Linked DNA regions of Homo sapiens: region 2 is linked to region 1. The links are contacts of gene promoters, found by promoter capture Hi-C in human tissues and cell types (Jung and others, 2019). All regions are on one chromosome and are shown on one strand. The core of a region is centred on a gene start or on the middle of the fragment in contact, and the rest is flanking DNA. Distances in the headings are between cores, read along the strand shown. Region 1 holds the start of STXBP5L (syntaxin binding protein 5L). Region 2 has its middle 10 kb from the start of NDUFB4.

Evidence for each region. The method cuts DNA at HindIII sites, captures the fragments that hold promoters and counts their contacts. A contact is called where the count stands out against the background at its distance.
Region 2: a contact is called between a fragment that was not itself captured here and the fragment with the promoter of STXBP5L in region 1, in 1 of the 25 tissues and cell types used here (dorsolateral prefrontal cortex).

The regions. Positions count from the first base shown.
Region 1 is chr3:120,906,025-120,910,125 of GRCh38, forward strand. It overlaps STXBP5L (syntaxin binding protein 5L), which reads left to right and starts at 2,181. Exons shown (of 27, transcript NM_001308330.2): 1 at 2,181-2,310; 2 at 3,547-3,743. The coding sequence starts at 3,555. LOC105374069 (a long non-coding RNA gene) reads right to left here and starts at 2,069. Exons shown (of 6, transcript XR_924399.4): 1 at 2,005-2,069. RefSeq lists a silencer at 2,013-2,252. The HindIII fragment of the contact is 16,055 bases long and covers 1-4,101 here.
Region 2 is chr3:120,583,902-120,588,002 of GRCh38, forward strand. No RefSeq gene overlaps it. Among named protein-coding and RNA genes, the nearest start is that of NDUFB4, 10 kb to the right of the region's middle. The HindIII fragment of the contact is 3,986 bases long and covers 55-4,040 here.

The DNA.
Region 1 (4,101 bases), core at 931-3,430:
CAGATATTTGAAATAATCCCAAATAGTCCACAATCTAAGCATCCTAATGATCATATTTTTTTAGGCTTCCAATATTTATTTGGAAACATGAATACATTTTGACTTGGCTTTTCTCCCACTTCCTATACCTATTTGTTGTCCCATCTAACTCAGGCAGTCCATTGAATTCTCTCCAGGGTCCTCAAGAAGGATCTCTGTCAATCTTTTGTGTACTTTTTTCCTCAGCTCTCCCCCAATTTTTAGAATAAAGACCATCATTTAGTTTGTGATAATATGGTGCTAGTGATGATCAGTTTAAGAGGTTTTGTTTGCAAACATTACATCTCACTTTGCTGAATTGGGGCTATTCTCCTTCTTCGCTCCCATCAAAATGTCAAACCACTACTTGCTATAGGCTTGCTTTCATTTATTAGAAAAATGAAAACTCAGCCACTTTATTATAACCCTCCTTGCCTCTGTTTTTAAAAAGAAAAGACAGACATAAAACAAGGAAAGCAAACTCTTTATCCTTAACTAGCGTCCATACTTTGAGGTGAGCAATGGGCCAGGAAGAAGAGAAGAAAAAAGGTGGAAAAGAGTAAAAAGATACCTGTTGTTAGGGACCCAATACAGAATTTGGAACCCTACCAAGATCTAGTTTGTGTCAGACATATCACTTATTTCCACCATTATTTTTACCCCTTTCAAACATTATGTAATTGGGTACCAACTCATATATCTTTAATAAAAAATATTAATAAACCAACTCTTCAGAACCCTTTACGTGCCTATTTTAAGTGAAATATTGTGCCTGGTGCTAAATAATCTAGGAGAAATATACAATTCCATGCTTGCCTTCAAGAAGGTTACTGTCTAGCTGTGGCAATGAGAGACTACCAGCAGTGTAGGGAGTCCCAAAAGGAGTGAAATAGTCATTCAGGACAGAAAGATTCAACGTTGAGCTGAGGATCTGAAAAACTGAGCTCTATTTCATCTTTACCATTTCTTTGCTATGTCCTTGGACAAGTCATCATCCTTCAAGTCTCCTGCTTCCTCCTTCCCACTCTCTCCCTTGATTGAGAGAAAAGAGAGAGAGAGAAGAGGAGAGGTGAAAAAGAAGAAAAAGAAGAAAAGAAAAAAAGAGGTCAAAGATTGTAAGATGTAAGACAATATTTGAAATGATCACTAATGAGTTCTGTTGTGATGCCCAAATTGAAGTCTCAGTTAGCTGTGACCCGCTGAACTGCCATTCATTTCGCAAAGACATCGGGGTCCAAATTTTCCCGAAGTCAATAGCAGGTGAGGGCTCAGAACCAAATCTATCCTGATACAGTTTTTTTTTCTGCACTGAATAATACATCTTTCAAAATGATTATTGTGACTCACAGAAATAGCTTAAAATATATTCTTGATACGGTTTACAGAGTGAGAAATATTTCTTTAAAGAAATTAAATATCTTTGTATATGTGAGGATGATGGGGAAGGAGTAATTCTACTTACTAGAGAGCAAGGTAAGCAATCAATTCCTTAGGCTCTAGAAGGCTATATATTCTGAAACTGTTGAAATACAATTCTCCTTGGCAGATACGAACCATTAAGCCATTATTGGTAACAGCAGGGGTTAATCACAGATACAAGTTGAGTGCAGGTAGCAGGAGAGTGATGGGAGCCAGATAGATGCTCCTGAAGACCGGGAAGAGGCTCGCAGAAGTGAAAAGGTGCAAAACACTTGCTCAGTTCACCATACTGTCCAGAGCCATACCTAAGGTAAGCAACGCTTCCCGCATCCTCAGACTCCAGGCGTCCAAATTCGCACGCTTGCAGGCATTCTATTGATTCACACTTGAGTCCTTCAACAGGTAGCGCCAATTACATCCCCCAGAGCACGACCCCCAGCATACTGGCCAATACCGCTGTCAATCAAATACCTCACCTACTTCTCTAAATTCCCCCCTCCCACTGTCATTGGCTTTACCTTCGGCCTATCCACAGATTTCTTCTGCCCTGGAGACCACAGAACTTACCCTATCGAATCTAGGATTGGCGCCGAAGCTACTCCCGCCCTTTGACGTCCCCGGGCACCCCGCCCCCTTCACCTCCCAGCTTTGCCGGGGAAGAAGCAGGGCGGGGCAAGCTAGGGGCCGGCCCGGGGGCGGGGCCTGCCTCCCACGGCGGGAGGGCGGAGCCTGCTCTGGAGCCTGACTGCTCGGTTAGGACCTCGGAGAGCGCCAGGCGCCGCGACCAGAGGGCCCAGAGAAGCGGCCGGAGCCCGCCTACCTCGGCCCCCTCAGCTTCCCGGGCTGGCAGGCGGCTAGAGGCGTCTGAGGAAGGTGCCTAAGTCCTGGGTCAGATAGTCATCCCTCTGGGACGCCGCCGCCGCTGCCGCCGTCCAGCTGTGGCTCCCTCGCACCTGTGTGTGTCTGTGTGAGTGTGTGTGTGTGTTTGAGAGAGAGAGAGACAGAGAGAGACAGAGACAGAGAGCGAGCGCACCAGCGCGCGAATGCCCGTGTGAGGGTGTTTGTGTGTGTTCTGGCTGGGAGCGCGAATGCCTCGGCGTGAGGTGTTTGTGTGTTCGCGCGCCCGCGGGCGGGCGAGAGCCCCGCGCCTCAGCGCTGGGCCTGGGGGAGGGACAGCGGGAGCGGCGGCTCTGCGCGCCCAGCAGGCTGAGGCGGGACTCGGGCCGCAGCCGTCGCCGCCACCGCTTCACGTCCCCCGAGAGCGGCTGCCGTGCAGCGGGGAGAGCGGACGGCGGGCGGGCGAACAGGCGGGAGAGCGCGGCGGCGGCTGCGGGCAGAGGTGGAGGGAGGGGAGCAGGAGATGGGGAGAGGGGGGAAAGAGGACGCGGGGAGGGAGATGAGGGGGAGGTGAGGGGGAGGCGGAGGGACAAGTGGAAACAGACGGTGTCGCCGTTCTCCTCCTCCCCCCCTCCCCGGCAGCTGTTGCTGTGGGTCACTCGCAGATGTTTTGGGGTCCGGGCTGCTGGGGGATGGGGACTAGAAAAAGTACCCCCCTCCCCGCCTTTCATAGTGACAAAAAAGGAAGCGTTGAAGCTGATGGGGGAAGAGCCCGGAAGGTGGTGGCAGAGTAAATACCGGCTCCCCCAACGTCGTTTTTCTGAAAATAAAATACTCTGAGCCGAACGTTTCGAAGAAGGAAAGTCCGCCCTTAAGAGAGAGACAGAGTCTTGGTCTGTTGAACTCTGGTTTGATTGTATAATAATGATGATATAATGCTAATGACGATGATGACACTGCCTTTTATTTTTACCCCAGTGCTGATAAAGCGTAGTTACAGCTGGGGATACAGTCCTTGAAAATCTGATGTGTGAGGAGGGAATACTGTTGCTTTTGGAGTTGTGTTATATTTATCTTTTTTTAAAAAGGATATGCTTTTTAGAATTAAAATTTGGCAAAACGAATCCTGACTCTTTTTTTCCAGTCGGTCGTAACCAATGCTCATAAAATGGGGACTGACTTGACTAATGAAAAGAGAAAGGCTTTTACCAAGGTCTAATTGCACGTGTTAAGTCACCTCTTTCCCTTTTTTTCCTTTGTATTTCTCAACAGTGTTTAAAATGAAGAAGTTTAATTTCCGAAAAGTTTTGGATGGCTTAACTGCCTCCTCCCCTGGCAGTGGTAGCAGCAGTGGCAGTAACAGTGGTGGTGGGGCTGGAAGTGGTTCCGTACATCCGGCGGGGACTGCAGGGGTTCTCAGAGAGGAAATTCAGGAAACTTTGACTTCGGAGTATTTCCAGATTTGCAAGGTAAGTTTTGAATTGGCTTAAAGCCTATTATTTCTTTATTATACTGTTGTAAGGAAACAAGGGGGGAAAAACATACCAGGAACAGGAAACTGTTGAGATGTCAGCATCAGAGTCTGCTGCAGAAAGCTCTGTGGGTAGATCAGTTTGGCTTAATAGATATTTTAGGCGTCAACTTAAAAAGCAATGATAGTTTAAGTGGGAAATGAGCACACACAAAAAGTAGAATTTGCAAGATAATGTTAAGATCCAATAGTGGACAAAATTTTTAATATTTGTGTATTATATTAACTGAAGAAGCAAATAGTCGTTTGGTTTTTTGTGTTATCAGAGAAAATATTGTTATTTCACTGTTCAGTAT
Region 2 (4,101 bases), core at 798-3,297, 320 kb before region 1:
ACTGGCAATCAGAGAAATGCAAATCAAAACCACTATGAGATATCATCTCACACCAGTTAGAATGGCAATCATTAAAAAGTCAGGAAACAACAGGTGCTGGAGAGGATGTGGAGAAATAGGAACACTTTTACACTGTTGTTGGGACTGTAAACTAGTTCAACCATTGTGGAAGTCAGTGTGGCGATTCCTCAGGGATCTAGAACTAGAAATACCATTTGACCCGGCCATCCCGTTACTGGGTATATACCCAAAGGACTATAAATCATGCTGCTATAAAGACACATGCACACGTATGTTTATTGCAGCACTATTCACAATAGCAAAGACTTGGAACCAACCGAAATATCCAACAAGGATAGACTGGATTAAGAAAATGTGGCACATATACACCATGGAATACTATGCAGCCATAAAAAATGATGAGTTCATGTCCTTTGTAGGGACATGGATGAAATTGGAAATCATCATTCTCAGTAAACTATCGCAAGGACAAAAAACCAAACACCGCTTGTTCTCACTCATAGGTGGGAATTGAACAATGAGAACACATGGACACAGGAAGGGGAACATCACACTCTGGGGACTGTTGTGGGGTCGGGGGAAGGGGGAGGGTTAGCATTAGGAGATATACCTAATGCTAAATGATGAGTTAATGGGTGCAGCACACCAGCATGGCACATGTATACATATGTAACTAACCTGCACATTGTGCACATGTACCCTAAAACTTAAAGTATAATAATAATAAAATAAAAATAAATAAAAAAAAGAAAAAATACATATAGGATAATTACAATTTTCTAAAACATCCTCTCTGTGGAAAAAAGATTGGAAGAAAAAAATGTCAAAAATGTTATGTGATTGTCCTTAGGCTGCTGAAAGATGGGTTTCAAATATTTTAATTTTTCATTCTATTTTAAAATTTTCCTATAATGAAATGTATTACTTTTGGAATGGAAAAAATGGTTTAAAACCCCCAAAGAACTTCATTTTACTTTTTATCCTTGTTTAATCCAGGGTAATGCTTATAAGAATAAAAGAAGTTAAAGATACTTCATGTTGAGAATTTAAGTATAGTTTGGAAGAAACTCTGAGCAAGCGATACTAAGTTATGTCTTGGCTGCCCTCAGTTAGCCATATACACATGAAGCAAACCTCATCACTGGGTCTCCATCCCCTTTCCTTGATCAAGGTGACTATGAAACACTAAGAAGTCTGTTCACCTGGCTGGGTGTGTTGGCTCACACCTGTAGTCCCAGAACTTTGGGAGGCCGTGGTGGGTGGATCATGAGGTCAGGAGTTCAAGACCAGCCTGGCCAACATGGTGGAACCCCATCTCTACTAAAAATACAAAAAATTAGCCGGGCACAGTGGCAGGCACCTGCAATCCCAGCTACTGAGAAGGCTGAGGCAGGAGAATCGCTTGAACCCAGGAGGTGGAGGTTGCAGTGAGCCAAGATCGTGCCACTGCACTCTAGCCTGGGCGACAGAGCACGACTCCATCATAAAAGAAAAAAAAAGAAGTCTGTTCACCTAAAGATCATACCAATGATGGCAGAATACAGACTCTAGCAATAGGTCTAGCAAAGTCTGGTATATTCCACAGCCTTCAGTTTAGCTTGCTGTGGTTGGCCCTAGGTCACCTTGCCATTCTAAGAAGTGGTCATTCACAAACTGGCTTCTGCTGAATTGATTTTCTGGGAATCAGCCTGCTTCTGCTGAGGACAAGCTTGAACCAAAAGATAGGAGACCTCAGGAGGTTAAATTCATAAGCCAATATTTTTAATTAGCCATCCTTGGTATACTTAACAAGTCATAAGAGTTAGATTCTGTAAATAATAGTCTTTCAGAGGCCAGGCCTGTGCTGCATTTTTAGAAAGCCAGAGTCAACCCAGGCAAAAATGTCAATGATACCTTTTACCTGGAGAGAGAACATCTCTCTAGGACTGTTAAACCAAAAGCTATACTACACTCACCCACAATAGCTACAGAATTCCTTGGCAGGGGCTAGTGGTTTCTTCTAGCTGATTCTGAAATTGAAATATTGAATATCTATCATTTAGGAACATGAAATTCAGCAGCTTTCTTAAAGAGACTTAAACCAACATGGAAGAAAAATATAAAAAGTTTCCTTATAACCTAACCAGCATTAGGGCCTGCCATGCACCCCAAGTCCCGGGCCAGTTTCTTCAGGAGACATGTGGAGTAAGAAACAGAAATTGTTCTTAAGGAGAGGGAGAAAAAAACAAGTACAAAATTGCCTGTAATACCAAGTAGAATAAAATAAGTAGGATGCAAATTTAGGGAAGAGAAAAATCACCTCTACTTGGGGGCCATAAGGGAAGATTTCCAGAGAATGAGGCATTTGAAGCAGCCCTTGATAGACATAAGATTTCAGTCAGCCACAGGCAGCAGGGAAGGTATAAGATAACTTTGATGGAGGGAAGAATATTATCAAGCAAAAGAAGATATGAAAAAAAAAGATAACATGTTCCAATCCAAATTTCTAAAAATGCAAGTGGCCCTATGAACTGAGGACCCGGGAGTCATGGCCTGGCCTATGGCTGGGCTTTGTTTTGCTGGGTATGAACTTGGAGCTCTGTGAACTTTGAAAGGCAGGTGGAGGTGGAGGCTGCTTGGCTGGTGGGGCTCCCAGAACAGACTTAAGGAGTGGGGAAGAAGAGGAATAAGAGCTCTTGCTGCTACAGAGATAAGAACTTGGTAGGAAGCAAATAAGAGACACTAAAAAGACATCATTGAGTCATTTTGCTTTGTGATATAACTCCTCTCCTGTGTATCCAGATAAATCTTTGATCACAATCTACATTACTAGACAATGTGTTAGACTTGAATTTTGAGTGTGTGTGTGTGTGTGTGTGTGGTGGGGGGCTGTATGTGTGTATGGGTTGAGGGGTGGTGGGTATGGAATACATCCTGGAGGTGAGAGTGAGATGAAAGCAGAGGCAGCAAGAGGGGTGTAGGCACATTTGTTTAATAGACTTACTTGGAAGTGAAGAAAGGCAACTAGTCATTCATTCATTCATCACTACTACGTTGTACCAAACACTGTGCTAGTATCGAGATGCAGTAGATCCAAGTCTGATGTGGTCCTGGTCTTCAAAGAGCCTGCAATCTTGTTGGGGTTGGGGGCAGAGATGAACTAAATAATTTTAAAAATGCCTAATTAGGATTGCAGTTAGTGCCATGAAGGAGAAGCCTATATCGCTATGAAAGTTCGTAGAGGGATTCGACCTTGTTGATTAGTTAAGGGGCTATAGAATTGAGTTCTGAAGGACGAATAGGAATGTAGAGTGTAGTGTTTAAGGTAGAGCAAAGAGTAAGTGCAAAGGCCCTGTGGAAAGAAGGAACTGAAGACAGGCCAGCATGTCTGAAGCACAGACAGTGATGAGGAGCATAGAGACAAGTACTGCTGACGAGACAGGAAGCAGACCACCACTGGGTGTTGTAAGTCAGGTAAGGGTTAATTGGGGGTGATAGGATCATTTATATTTAAGAAGGCCACTCTGGCTGCTGTATGGAAAAGGAATGAGAGTATGACAAGAGTAGATGTATGCAAGAAAATCAACTAAGAAGCCGCTGCTCTCCCCAGGGAAAAGATGATGATAGGGCTATACTTTATCACAAATAAGAAAGCATGACATAGCCTCAGCTAAGAGGATTAACTCTCTTTTATATTAAATTGAAAGCGTGCAAGAAAATGTCACCTTACACTTTGTAGGAAACTTATTGTTCCTTTCAAGTACAAATATGTGCTTATGTAAGTGACTTTAGCAATAAGAACAGATATATGCTAACACTAGGATGAAAAGACAGTCTCTGAAGAAGTGGAATGCAAAATGTAATATTCATAAGCTTTTGGATATGTCTACATGACAGATGTGTTTCTAAGTGTACTGTATATTTTAGGCAGAATGTTTTTTCTTGGCTGGTTTGTATACAGCACACTGAATGGATAGAGGGAACAAAGCATTATATATGAGTTACTTTTTCTTTATATACAAACAATTCACAGAGGCATTCCCACTAAAATGCTTCCATTTCACCTTCAATTCATCTTGAATACTCTAATTTTGTTCAAGG